Regions from separate parts of the Homo sapiens genome. Here all the other regions are linked to region 3. Evidence: promoter capture Hi-C in 16 types of primary human blood cells and fetal thymus (Javierre and others, 2016). All regions are on one chromosome and are shown on one strand. Each heading gives the region's core, a stretch centred on a gene start or on the middle of the fragment in contact. The rest is flanking DNA. Distances are from core to core; before and after follow the strand shown. Region 1 overlaps VAV2 (vav guanine nucleotide exchange factor 2). Region 2 overlaps VAV2 (vav guanine nucleotide exchange factor 2). Region 3 holds the start of VAV2 (vav guanine nucleotide exchange factor 2).

Region 1 (4,263 bases), core at 621-3,120, 190 kb before region 3:
CACGCCACACACACTGGGCATCACTTGGTGCCAGGACCTGGGCTGGAAGCTCTGGGACCGTGACTGTCGCCGTTCTACCCATGGGGACACTGAGGCTCAGAGAGCCCCGTAGCTGAGAAGGGAATCACACCAACAGTCACCGACCCCAAAGCCCAGTTCCTGGGGCTGTCCTAGGGCTGCACTGCTCTGCCTCCTGGCTGTGCCTCCTATCTGATGATGACACCAGACCAGAAGCAAGGCAGGAGGTCCAGGGGCACCCCAAACCCTAAGGCCCCCAGCCCACCCCTGTGGCCCCTTTGAAAAGTGCCCCTGACCTGGCCTGAGGACTCTAGGTGGGGAAGCCAGGGCAGGTGGTGAACCTCAAGGCTTTCAGAGCTTCCCAAGACCGCCTGGAGGCGGGAGGACGAGTCTGGGCTGGGGAGAAGGAAAGACAGAGTCCCCAGCGAGGGGTCCTGCCCGCATGGAGCCATGTCTGCTGCTGCTGGGGCTGGGGCCACGCTCGGGCCCGAGGGACACCACACTGCCTGACTTCCCACCAGGCCCCGCACCACTGCGGACTCGGCTTCAAGCATTTCAGGTGAGCTGGGCCCAGTGATGGCCCCAGTCCCTCCCTGTCGAGGCAAGTCTTCATGTAGGTGGAAAAAGCTCCCAACTGAAGCCCAGCGGATAACATGCCTGGTGCCAGCAGCTCTAGTGTGGCCAAACCAGCTTTGTGAGCTCCGCCTTTCAATTTCACACCAAGTCACCTTGGCCCGAGGTTTAGGTGGACGAGGGGCTGGAGTGCAGATCCCAGCCTTACTCTCCTCACACCATGCTCTACCGGGAACACCCACATCAGCCACAGCACAGCTGAGCTGGCAGCCTTCTCCACCTGGCAAACTTCTACTCGTCTGTCAAAACTCTTCCCTATCATTGCCCCTTCTTCACTTCAACCCCTGCACCAGCAGGGCCAGAGGGAAAAGCAAGGAGATAGGTCAAAGGGCAGCAGGTAGAGGCCTGTCCAAGGTCAGTGGGAGCCCAAAGAGGAGACTGCCCCGGGTGACCCCCACCCACCAGCTCTGAGCTCCTGCAATGGGTCTCACTCATCCCCATACCCCAGCACCCAGCCCGGAGCCTGCCTGCACCAGGCACTCACACACGGCTGTGAGTGGCCACAGCCACAAGCCTGGACACAGGTCCTTCTATCCATTTGATAAGAGGATGCAGGAGGTTGGGGGTGGGGGGAATGGCAGGCACTTGAAGCAAACAGGAGAACTCTGGGGAAAGACAGACCTCCATGAAGAGCCTGAAAGGGCCCTGGCCGTGGGACGGGCTTCACACCCGGGCTCACTGCATCCTCACAGAAACACCACTGTCACCACAGGGGCCCTGAGGCTCAGAGACGTGACGTGACTTCTGAGGTCGCCCAAGAAGGGGAACAGGGCCAGATTCCAAAGCGAATGCACATGGCTCTCAACCCTGGCCCTCAGGGCCCCAGGGTGACGCCTCTGCAGAGGGACACTCTCTCTCCGTGGAGTCCAGAAGGACACTCGAGGGGCCCGCGCCCTCTCTCACCTGACCCAGGGGCAGAGCAGATGCCAGCACCTGCACACCCCTAGCCCCACTGAGCAAGGGCAGCTGGTGATGGAGAGGGCCTCGGACCAGAACTCGGCTGCAGTGGGTCCACTAGAGCCTCACACTGTGACCTTATTTGGTCATGATGCAGATGTAATGAAGGTAAGGACTGAGATGAGGCCATGCTGAAGGAAGGTGGCCCTGACTCCAATGAGAGTGGCCTCAGAAAAGGACACAGAGACGCGGGGAGGCCATGTGGAGATGGGGACAGAGAACGAAGCAGCCCCAGCCAGGAACACCCGGGGCCTCCAGCAGCTGCAGGACGTAGGAAGGATCCCCCTGAAGCCTCTGCAGGAAGCATGACCCGGGCACACCTGGACTTTGGCTCAGTGAGACTAGGAGTCTGGCCTCCAGAACAGAGACATCTCTGTTGTTTCAAGCCACCATGTTTGCGGTCATTGTTACAGCCAAGCCAGGTCACTCACACAGACGCCTTCACCCTCCGTCCACACCACAGGACTCTGAGCACCTGCCACATACCAGGCAGCATGGGCCACAGAGTCCCCAGGGGGCACAGTTTGACTTTTCCCCGAAAAATGGAGAGAAAATGACAGTGACTCCAAGCCTATTGGAGGAAGTCAGTTAAGGAGGCAAAAGTTTACAGGCCTTAATTCTAACCACATTTACTACTGTTAAGAAAAAGGAGCCAAAACTTGGAATAACACACACGGGCACACATGTATGCACACACACACACATGCATGTGCACACAAACACACAAGCACGCGTGTACACACACACACACACACACACACACACACACGACTTCATGCATTCCTGGTCTGGTTGGAGCACCTCCCAGGGGCAGCCTCCCCCTCCCCCGCCCCACTCCGGCTGACTCCTCCCCTGGAGAAAGTTGTTCAGGCGCAAATGATTTCTGTCCTGATAGAGGACATGGCCCCAAAGGTCTCAGTGTGGTCACCTTGCAAGGCACGGCCCGCCGTGTCCAGCATCCTGCCCGACCTCCCCTCTCTGCTGACAAGGTATGTGGTTCCCTTGCTCGTGAGTTGACAGACCCGTGGCCCGAGCTCCGTGGGTATTTGTGTGAGGATCATGTTTTTTAACTTTCTGAGTACGTCAAATTCTGAACCCACCACACGGTGCACAAATGCCTCCTCCAGAGATGCCTCTCCTCTGCCCATTTTCCTCATGGTATCACCTCTGCCTCCAGTCCACACAGCCCCAACCTCTCAAGATGCCCAGGGACAGGCCAGCGTGGATTGAGGACCACAGGCCATGGGCTCAGGTATGGACCAAGGATGCAGGAACAAGCAAGGTGCACGGCTGAGCTGCCAGCTCTGGCCTCCGTTTCCCCATCTGGGAAATGGGGGTTAGACAGAGCGGGAGCTGAGGCTTCTTGACTTCAGAGGTTCCCAAAGGCAGCCCTGCCAGAGCAGGTGGCCAAGCCAACCCCTACTGGGGTTTTTGAGGTGGACCATGACCGGGGACTCTCCCTGCAGGCCGTACCCTGGAACCACCCAGCCTTGGGCTTCGGGTAGGAACCATCCACAGGGCAGCCTCACTCGTTCCAGGATTCCGAGTGGAAGTCTCGGTGCACCAAAGCGCTCACCTGTCTCGGATCCTTCATCTCCACATACGCAGGGAGATCCCACCCAGCCCTGGGGGAGGAGGGCGTGGCCTTCGTCTCGTTCTGTTCTGCATTCCTCCCAAAAGCGCTCGTGCAAAGCTCCACAGAGAGCTCCTCTTGAAAGCCAGTTCGTGGCCTTCCTGCAGGGCTGCCAGCTCCCCGAGGTCGTTCCCTTTCTAGCTCTCCTGCCCCCACGTCCCCGTATGCCCCCACTCCCCGCAGCATGACTCACTGCCCCACTCAAGGAAGCCACCAGGAGCTGGACTCCAGGCCCAGCCTGGCCAGACCCAGCCACAGAGAAAAACCACACGGCTTTGTCTTATGTCCACAGCTGCAGAATGCAAGCTCCTTCCCAAGGCCCAGTGTCCCTCTGGGTGGGAGATGCCCCCTTTTAGGCCCACAGGGCAAGGCTAAGAGGAGCTCCTGCCTTGTCTGAGGACGAAGGCTGCATTCATGAAAGTATAACCTCAAAAAGAGGGAGGTGACTGTCTCCTGCCACTCAGTGCCGATCATGCCACACCGGAATGCTACTCCACCCTTCACCCCCGACGAGCTGCCAGGACCCTGTCACAAAGCCCTTCAGCAGCTTCCTCGTGCCCTCGCTTAATAAAAGAAAAATTCTAAATCCTTCCTTTGGCCTGGAAGCCCCTGCAGGACCCTCCAGCCCTTCCCTGGAGAACCGCCCCTTTTCTACTGGGCTCATGCCTCTCACCTTCCCCTAAGCTTCTGCTCCCCAACCCGCCTCGCCCCACCCCTGCAGGACTGTGCTCAGGGGGACACGTCCTCCGCTGTGCAGCCCTCACGGGTCTCCTGGGCTCTCCAGCAACGCCGCAGCTCCCCCCGGAGCTTCTCTATCTTGTCTTGGTTCTCATCCATCCCACCCAGCGAGAGGCCAGTAGCTCTGTTCACTGCGTGTCCTCAGTCCAGAGCTCAGGAGCCATACAGAGCAGGCACCCTATAAAAGCTTCAGGACTCAGCCAGCAAGCAAGAACCAGGACCTTGGGGCCGAATCCGAAATGAGAGGAAAGGGGCAAAAAAGCTGGATGCTGGGACAGAACCAC
Region 2 (3,948 bases), core at 1,116-3,615, 220 kb before region 3:
CCTAACCTCAAAGTATTACCCTGCAAATTACTTGCTAATTACAGTCAACAGTAACTTCACAGTAGAACATAGCAAATATAATCTTAAACACATGATCAAAGTTAATGTCACAAATAATGAGACAAACTGGCATAATTCATGTCCTAACAGGACACTACGGCACTGAGAAAGTGCCAACGTCCCCATTGTGGTGTTCCCAATGGAACCTCAATCTAATCATGAAGAAACATCAGACAAACCTAAATTGAGAGATATCCTATAAAAATAGCTGGCTCAAACTCTTCAAAAGTGTAAAAGTCATGTAAGGCAGAGAAAGACTGAGGAATATTCCAGATTAAAGAGAGTTAAGGATCACAGCAAGTCAATGCAATTCATGATCCTGGACTGGATCCAGGACCAGGAGAGAAGAGCTAGAGAAGACATGATTGGGATGACTGGTAAGATTTGAATATGGACAGTGGATTAGATAATTGTATTATATCAAAGGGGAATGTCCTTGGTCTTAGGAAATACTTAGGGGTAAAGAAATATGATTTCTGCAATTTACTCTCAAGTGAGTTAGAGAGAAATAGACAAACACACACACACACAGTGCAAATGATAAAGCAAATGGGGCAAAACATTCACAATTGGTAAATCTGGGCAGGTTACTGACACTTTTAAGTTGAAATTTTGAAATTGTACGTTTGAAATTTTGTTTCAAAATTATGTTACAAACATTTTACAATGTGAATATTTAAAAAGAAAGTGAAATAAGGATGGTTTTAGATTCAAAAGAAACTGAGAATTCATTAATAGCAGATATGCTTTAAAAAATATGAAAGAGAAGGGATGTCAGGCAGCAGGAAATGGTGTTGGGTGGAAATACAATAATGCAGGAGGAAATGGGGAGCCCTGGGAAAGGTAAACACGGGGTAAATCTAAATAAGCACAACAGCCTAAAACAAAAACAATGTCAAATGGTATTTCTAGTTCTAGATCCCTGAGGAATTCCCACACTGTCTTCCACAATGGTTGAACTAGTTTACAGTCCCATCAACAGTGTAAAAGTGTTCCTCTTTCTCCACATCCTCTCCAATGTATGTTTATTGCAGCACTACTCACAACAGCAAAGACTTGGAACGAACCCAAATGTCCAACAATGATAGAATGGATTAAGAAAATGTGGCACATATACACCACGGAATACTATGCAGCCATAAAAAATGATGAGTTCATGTCCTTTGTAGGGACATGGATGAAGCTGGAAACCATCATTCTCAGCAAACTATCACAAGGACAAAAAACCAAACACCGCATGTTCTCTCTCATAGGTGGGAACTGAACAATGAGAACACTTGGACACAGGAAGGGGAACATCACACTGGAGGGGGAGGGGGAGGGATAGCATTAGGAGACATACCTAATGTAAATTAGGTTAGTTAATGGGTGCAGCACACCAACATGGCACATGTATACATATGTAACAAACCTGCACATTGTGCACATGTACCCTAGAACTTAAAGTATAAATAAATATATATATATATATATATATATATATCCCAAAAACAAAAAAACAAAAACAATGTCTTCTAAGGTTTGAATATATATAGAATTAAGATACATGAGAACGCTTGCACAAAAGTTGGGAGGAAAATGGATGCAATCAAAAGTCGCAAGGTCCTTCCTTGCATTGTCTGGGAAATAGTAAAAAAGTACTCATTTAAGGTAACCTCTAGTCTAAGGTTACCACTTAAGAAAAAAAGTGTGTAACTAACAAACCAATGTAGGGCAGGGGAAGTAGAATTAAAAATATATTGATTAATTCAAAAGTAGGCAGGAAAGAAGAAAAAAGGAGTAGATGTGACAACTAGAAAATAAAGTTAGATAATTTAAACCCAAACAGCTCAGTAATTACATTAAATGTAAATGGGCTATATATGCCTATTAAAAGCCAAAGACTGTCAGACCAGACTGGCTTCCCCAACTATTTATAAGAAATCCATTTTAAATATAAGGAAATAGAAAAGTTTAAGTAGTATGAGAGAAAATAATATGCCACACAAAGCAGTAATCCCAAGAAAGCTGGTGTCACAAAAGCAGATCAAGGAGACTACAGCAAGAATAAATGCCAGAGAAAAGAAAAGACGTTTCATAATGGTAACAGGGTCAAATTGACAGGAATTATCCAGTAATACTCAAACTAGTTGTTCTAAAACTTAATGCTGTATAGAAAATACCTGGATCTGGGAAAGAGCCCAGGTATGTGCTTATTAAATTACAGCTTCAGGCACTTTTAATGCCAATCACACAAGGACCACTTTGAGAACCAGTGGTCCCAGCCCCCTAGGTGGGCTACCTAAGCCTCAGTAGCCTTGACACTTCTATAGGGCAGTTGGGTAAAAAATGGGTCAGACTTGAGGGCCTCCAAGGGGCAGACTGATAGGTGAAGGCAGAGCTGCTCCGGCCACTGGACAATGGAAGGGTCAGCACTGGGAGCCAAGGTTAACTGGCCCTCTGAAGCCCCATCCACCTGCCCTGTGCAGCTTGCAGCTCACAGAGAAAGCTGGGCATTTTCTAATTGGTGGCACAGGGAGCTCTGGTGCTTGGATGGATAGGTACTGAGAGACATGGGTCAAAGCTAGAGGTCCAGATGGGGTGTTGGGATGAAGAGGCCACAGACATATGCAGAATCTTAGGGTGGCCAGGGCACTCTTAGGCCCACCTGGCACTTGGGAAAGTGTGAAGGGATTGGGGACACACTGTGTCCCTACTGCCTCACCAGGGCATAGATAGGGCCTTAGAAAATGGCAGGAGGAGCCCAGCAAGGACACCGTGTCCTCCTCAGTCCTGTGACCTCCCTTCCCGCAAACAGAGCTTGGGGACTTGCAAGTAATTTGGCGAGTGCAGCTATGAGGGCAGCCCAGAATAAAAATGGAACAGGGTCGGGGGGTTCCTAGGAGCCTGGATCCGCATCAGACCTCTGTAGCCGATTTCTGGCTGTGTGACCTTGGGTTCGTGGTAAACATCTGGAGCCTCGGTTTCCCCCTGTGAATGCCAACCTTCTGGGCTGCTGTGAGGATGAGGGAGATTGCAGAGGGTGTCTGGAACAGGGCCTGGGGTGTGGACATAGGTGTGGTGCTAGTCTGCCTGAGCCCGACCAGGTAGGGGCTGCAGCGAGGCCAGCCCCACACCCTCAGGGTGGGGCCACTCACCCGTCCGTTGGTCTCGCCCTTCCACCAGCCCTGGTCTCCGCCGATGCGGCTGTAGATCCTCACCACGTCACCCTCCCGCAGCGAAAGCTCCCTCATATCTCGGGCGGCAAAGTTATACCTGGCCACAGCTGTGCCGATGACGCGGGGCGTGAACACTGTTGAGGGAGATGGGCAGCATCACACAGCTGCAGGAGGAGCCCAACCAGTGATCCAGGAGGCCCTTGGGCCAAGCTGGGTCTCTCCCCTGGTGCCCAGAACCCTGCTCTGTACCCAGAGAGGAAGGATGTCAAGCAGAAAGGCTCTGGAGGGACACACTGGCCTCCAATCCCAGGGCCCCTTGCCCTCTGGGTCTGGGGACACAGCACATCCAAGTCCCTGCAATGAGGATGTTCTTAGGGACAAGAGCAGGTGCCCAGGCTTTGACCATCATCATTCCAGTGGTCCCCCAAATCCAACCAGAAACCCAGTGGAACCAGCTTGGCCCAGATGCAGAATCCTGATAGACAGGTGACAATGACCATGGCTGAGGGCGAAACACACACAGCTGCTGGGAAGGGACTTTGACTCTGGCAGCCGAAAGCCATGAGGTCAAGGCTGACTGAAAACCCCTCCTCCCTGCACCCAAGTCCCACAGCTCCTCCTCGTGGCCACCTGCTTTCTGCTACCAGAGGCAAAGCTCTTGATGAACAAGGAGGAATGACAGTGGACGGGGCTGGGAAAGTGGCCATCAGGGTGGGCGTGTCCACAGGGG
Region 3 (3,733 bases), core at 325-2,824:
GAAGCCCTCTGCAGCAGTGACCGCCACCCCCGCCACCTGCACCTGACCACTGACATCCTGCGGGAAGAGGCGCTGGCTCCCAGGGAGGCCTCTGAGGGCTCCTGCTAAGCCGGTCCAGGCAGTGCTGGGTAATCATTACCCAGTGGGAAGGCGGCCCCTTCCCCTCTGGGCTTGCCTTTGTCAGCGCCCCCCAACCCGGCAGAGAAAGGCCCGGTCTCCTAGGAAACGCAGTCACCGCCAAAGGGCAGAGGCCTCGCTGCCCAGCCTGGAATCGCTGGTGACTCACTCTCCCTCCTTCCCAGGAACCACGTCCTAAGTCCCACTGGTGAATGGTCCCTCTCCACATGGAGTTGCCACTGCGCGCGGTGAGGGGCTGCTGAGCTGGCTGGAAGACCGCACCTCCTCGGCGCTGGGTGGACCCGGCTGCCACCCGCTCTGCCTCCCCCGACCTCTTCTAAGCTGCTCCCGGTAAGGATTCCGCGACCCCCGGAGAACAGGACGGAAGCCTCGATTCTCTCAAGTCTTAGCCAAGTTCCCTCTTAAGAGGCCAAGAAAAGCAGCTTCGTTCGGCTGGGCAGGCATTTTCCTGCCTGGCCCTGCGGCCGCACGCGTGCCTCCGCCGCGACAAAGGCCACACTCAGCGCCCGAAGGAGGGGTGGGGGTGTTGGGAAAGCGATGGGGGCCAGGACTGGGGCCAAGTGGCCCTGGGGATCCTCGAGGCGGCTCGACCCGGGAGCCAGGACTGGCGCCAAGTGGCCCGGGTCCGGGTCCGGGAAGAGGCGGAGGCCGGCGAGGGGGCGGTGCCCGGGGCCAACCCAGCTCCCTCCGGCCCCGAGGGCTCCCGCCCCGCGCCCCTCCCGGGCCCTCCAGCCGCGCCCCGGGCCGGCGCAGCGACCGCGCCCGCTCTTCCACCGGCGTCCGGCCAGGAGGCGCGAGGCCCAAGGATGCGACCCACGACGCGCACACCCGGCTCGGCAGGCTCCCTGGGAAATGAGGGGCCACTCGCAGGGCCCCGCAGAGCGAGCGCAGCGCCGGAGCCTCCCCCATCCCAGGCCGCGCAGACCGCGGAACCGGCGCACCAGAGCAGTGCCCGCGGGCGGCGGCGGCGCGACCCAGGCTGAGGGGACTTTGGCCAACTTCGCGCCTCCTGAGGTCGCGTCTCGGAGGCCCGGGGCGCACCCTCCAGCCGCCCGCCCGCGTCCCGGAGCCCGGCCGCCCCAGCCAGGGCGCCTGGGCCGCCGCCGCTGCGACCTCCGCGTTCAGTCCGCGCGTCGGGCAGCGCGAACGCCGCCTCCCCGGGGCCCTCCCGCCCGCCGGGCGCTCACCTGGGACATCTGCGGCCGGAAGTTGATGTCCTTGAGGTCGATGGAGCCGGGGGAGAGGTTGTGCAGCAGCTGGCACAGAAGGACCCCGTCGCGCAGCGCCTGCGCCAGGTCGAAGACCACGGCCGAGGGCCACACCACCCGGTGGTTGGGCGGCAGGACCTTGCAATCGATGAGCCAGCGGCCGCACTGCCGCCACTGCTCCATGGCGCCCGCGGGCCCGACCGGCTCAGGGCAGTGCTCGAGCCAAAGTGCAGCGGCCGCGGGGCATCCCGCCCGCGCGCGCGCGGGGCTCAGGGCCGGGGCGGGGCTTCGCGCGGGCTGCCCCAGGTCCCCCGCTGCGCCGCCGTGCGTCCCCTCCTCTTCCTCCTCCTACTCCTCGGGCTCCTCTCGGGCCGCCGCTCCCGCCCACGTGCGGCCGCGGGGCGGGCAACGGGCAGCGCGCCGGATCTCCCCGCTTCACACACGCAAGTGCCTGCGGGCCCCGGGCCGGGCTCCACGCAGCCAGTCGCCGCAGCGCTCCCCAATCCGCGCCGCCGGGCGCCGCATTCTGCGCTCGGGGCGCCCCGCGGCCGCCGCGGCTCCTGCCCCGCCCGAGACAAAGGCCCGGCGGGGTCGCTCGCTCCGCGCGTCCCGGGCCTGGGCCGCCCGCGTCGCCGCCGCTTTGTTCGCCCCACCCGCAGTCCCCACGCCCGGCGCTGCGACTCGACGACTCGGCGGCTCGGCGGCTCCACGGCTCCGGGGCGCTGGGGGCGCAGGGGGCGCGGCCACGGCCGGGCGGGGCAGGGGCGGGGCCGGAGCACTCGCCTGGCACCTCCCCGTGTCCCAAGCGCCGCCCCCGCCCCCCCACTTCCTGCCCCGCTACCGCCCGCGAAAGTTGCGGTGGGCGGGGGTTGCGGCGCAGGCCCAGGTCCGGCCGACTTTCTCCAAGGGCGCTCGGACTTTGGGGAGCCCTTCTCCCTGGGGGAGCGACCTCGCCCGTGGAGTGATGGCCGGGCGTCCCCCCGGGTGCCTTTGGTCCTCCGTGGAGGTCAGGAGGTGGTCCCTGTCGCGCTGGGCGCCCTCGCATGGCCGTTCGGTAACGACAGACTCGGGAGAGGGCACCGGGCTGGGCCGAAGCTTACTGAGCCCCCTTGGCCCATCAAGCCGCCCCGGCGGGATACCCGAGGCTGAGGCTGAAGGCACACGGGCCCAGGACTCCCAGAGCCCTCTTCCTGTCCTCCGCCCTGGCCGGGGGCCCATAGGAAGACCCCCGACCCTGCATAAAGGCCAGGATTCCCCAGCTTTTGGCCAAAGTCCTGGCCACTCGCAGCTGCCCAGCGGGCAGTTCCTGGCGTCCAGGGCGGAATGCGTGACATGAGTGAGGGCAGGAAGGTGCTCTCCGGCCCAGGGTCGCAGCCGGCCCCGGTGCTGATCCGCCCTGATCTCCCTTCTAGGCCACACCCTGGGTGGTGGGGGCGCGGTCTGTCCAGCTGGCAACGTGTGACGGTAGGAGGGGCTTCAAGGACAAACAGATTCTGCAACTGAAATTATATGGATCCTGGCTCAGCTGCCGGGAACCGCGGGTTTTCACTGCTGATTCACTGGGGGACACCAGGCAAGTCCAAGCCCTTCTCTGAGACTGGCTCAGCCCGGAGGCTGGGGTGCGGTGTCTGAGGGCTCCCACCCTGGACTCCGGTGGAATCCTGGGCCTGTATGAGCTGGGGCTGCACTGCAGCCCCCGGACCCCTTACCCCGTGGCTTCCCTGCGCAGGGGCCGGAACGGGGATGCGAGCGCAGAGAGGGTCCCCTGGGCCCAGGGCCTCCGATGGGGGTCCTGTCCTGGAAATTGGTCTCTGCAGAGTCAGACTCACCCCTTCTCCACTGAGGTGGAAGCAGGGGGTCCCAGCTTAGGGTCTGGCCCGTAGAGAGAGGTCAGGAAGGAGCTGGCCCCTGCAGCAGTAAACTCAGGCCAGGTGGCTGGTGAGGCGGGGGCTCAGGTCTCTTGCCCTTCCCCGAGGAAGCAGCAGTGGGCACCTTTAGGGCAAGGGGGAGAGCTTTCCTCACCGAAGCAAGATGGGGCAGCAGGTGGACCCATCAGCATCTCCCTAAGAAATCAGAAAGCCAGGAGTGAAACCTGAGCGGGGCCCTCCAGCCCCATCTGAGAGCCTACACTGATCCCTCCTCCTGCAAAGCCTCATCCCCTCCTCTCTAGAGCGGGGAGACCCGGCTCCCACTGGACTTGCTTGTGAAGAATGGACGGATAAATTACCCAGAGGCTTCCCACTGTGCTGGGACAGAAAGGGCTCAGAGAGGAAGAAGAGCTACCCACTCTCCCAACCCCTCGCCTGGACCGCCGGCGCATTGATGCACTAAATGTCTCTTTCCCCAGGTGGCTCCCTCAGCAAGAAGGGGGCCTCTGTCCTCACGGT

The links. Contacts are between HindIII fragments. The CHiCAGO score rates a contact against its expected background, and 5 or more counts as called.
Region 1: a contact is called between a fragment that was not itself captured here and the fragment with the promoter of VAV2 in region 3, in 13 of 17 cell types (total B cells, M1 macrophages, endothelial precursors and 10 more). The highest score is 8.2, in total B cells.
Region 2: a contact is called between a fragment that was not itself captured here and the fragment with the promoter of VAV2 in region 3, in 4 of 17 cell types (total B cells, naive B cells, M2 macrophages and 1 more). The highest score is 7.7, in total B cells.

The regions. Positions count from the first base shown.
Region 1 is chr9:133,799,979-133,804,241 of GRCh38, forward strand. All of the region lies in intron 9 of VAV2 (vav guanine nucleotide exchange factor 2), which reads right to left. Among named protein-coding and RNA genes, the nearest start is that of SARDH, 64 kb to the left of the region's middle. RefSeq lists enhancers at 1,241-1,761, 2,883-3,405, 3,406-3,928. The HindIII fragment of the contact is 4,106 bases long and covers 1-3,923 here.
Region 2 is chr9:133,765,245-133,769,192 of GRCh38, forward strand. VAV2 (vav guanine nucleotide exchange factor 2) reads right to left here. Exons shown (of 30, transcript NM_001134398.2): 29 at 3,198-3,352. Among named protein-coding and RNA genes, the nearest start is that of SARDH, 29 kb to the left of the region's middle. The HindIII fragment of the contact is 6,396 bases long and covers 1-3,948 here.
Region 3 is chr9:133,990,750-133,994,482 of GRCh38, forward strand. It overlaps VAV2 (vav guanine nucleotide exchange factor 2), which reads right to left and starts at 1,575. Exons shown (of 30, transcript NM_001134398.2): 1 at 1,326-1,575. The coding sequence starts at 1,529. RefSeq lists enhancers at 1-617, 618-1,345, 2,074-2,801, 2,698-2,887 and silencers at 728-1,167, 1,208-1,297, 1,568-1,717, 1,778-1,877, 1,978-2,287. The HindIII fragment of the contact is 11,248 bases long and covers 1-2,439 here.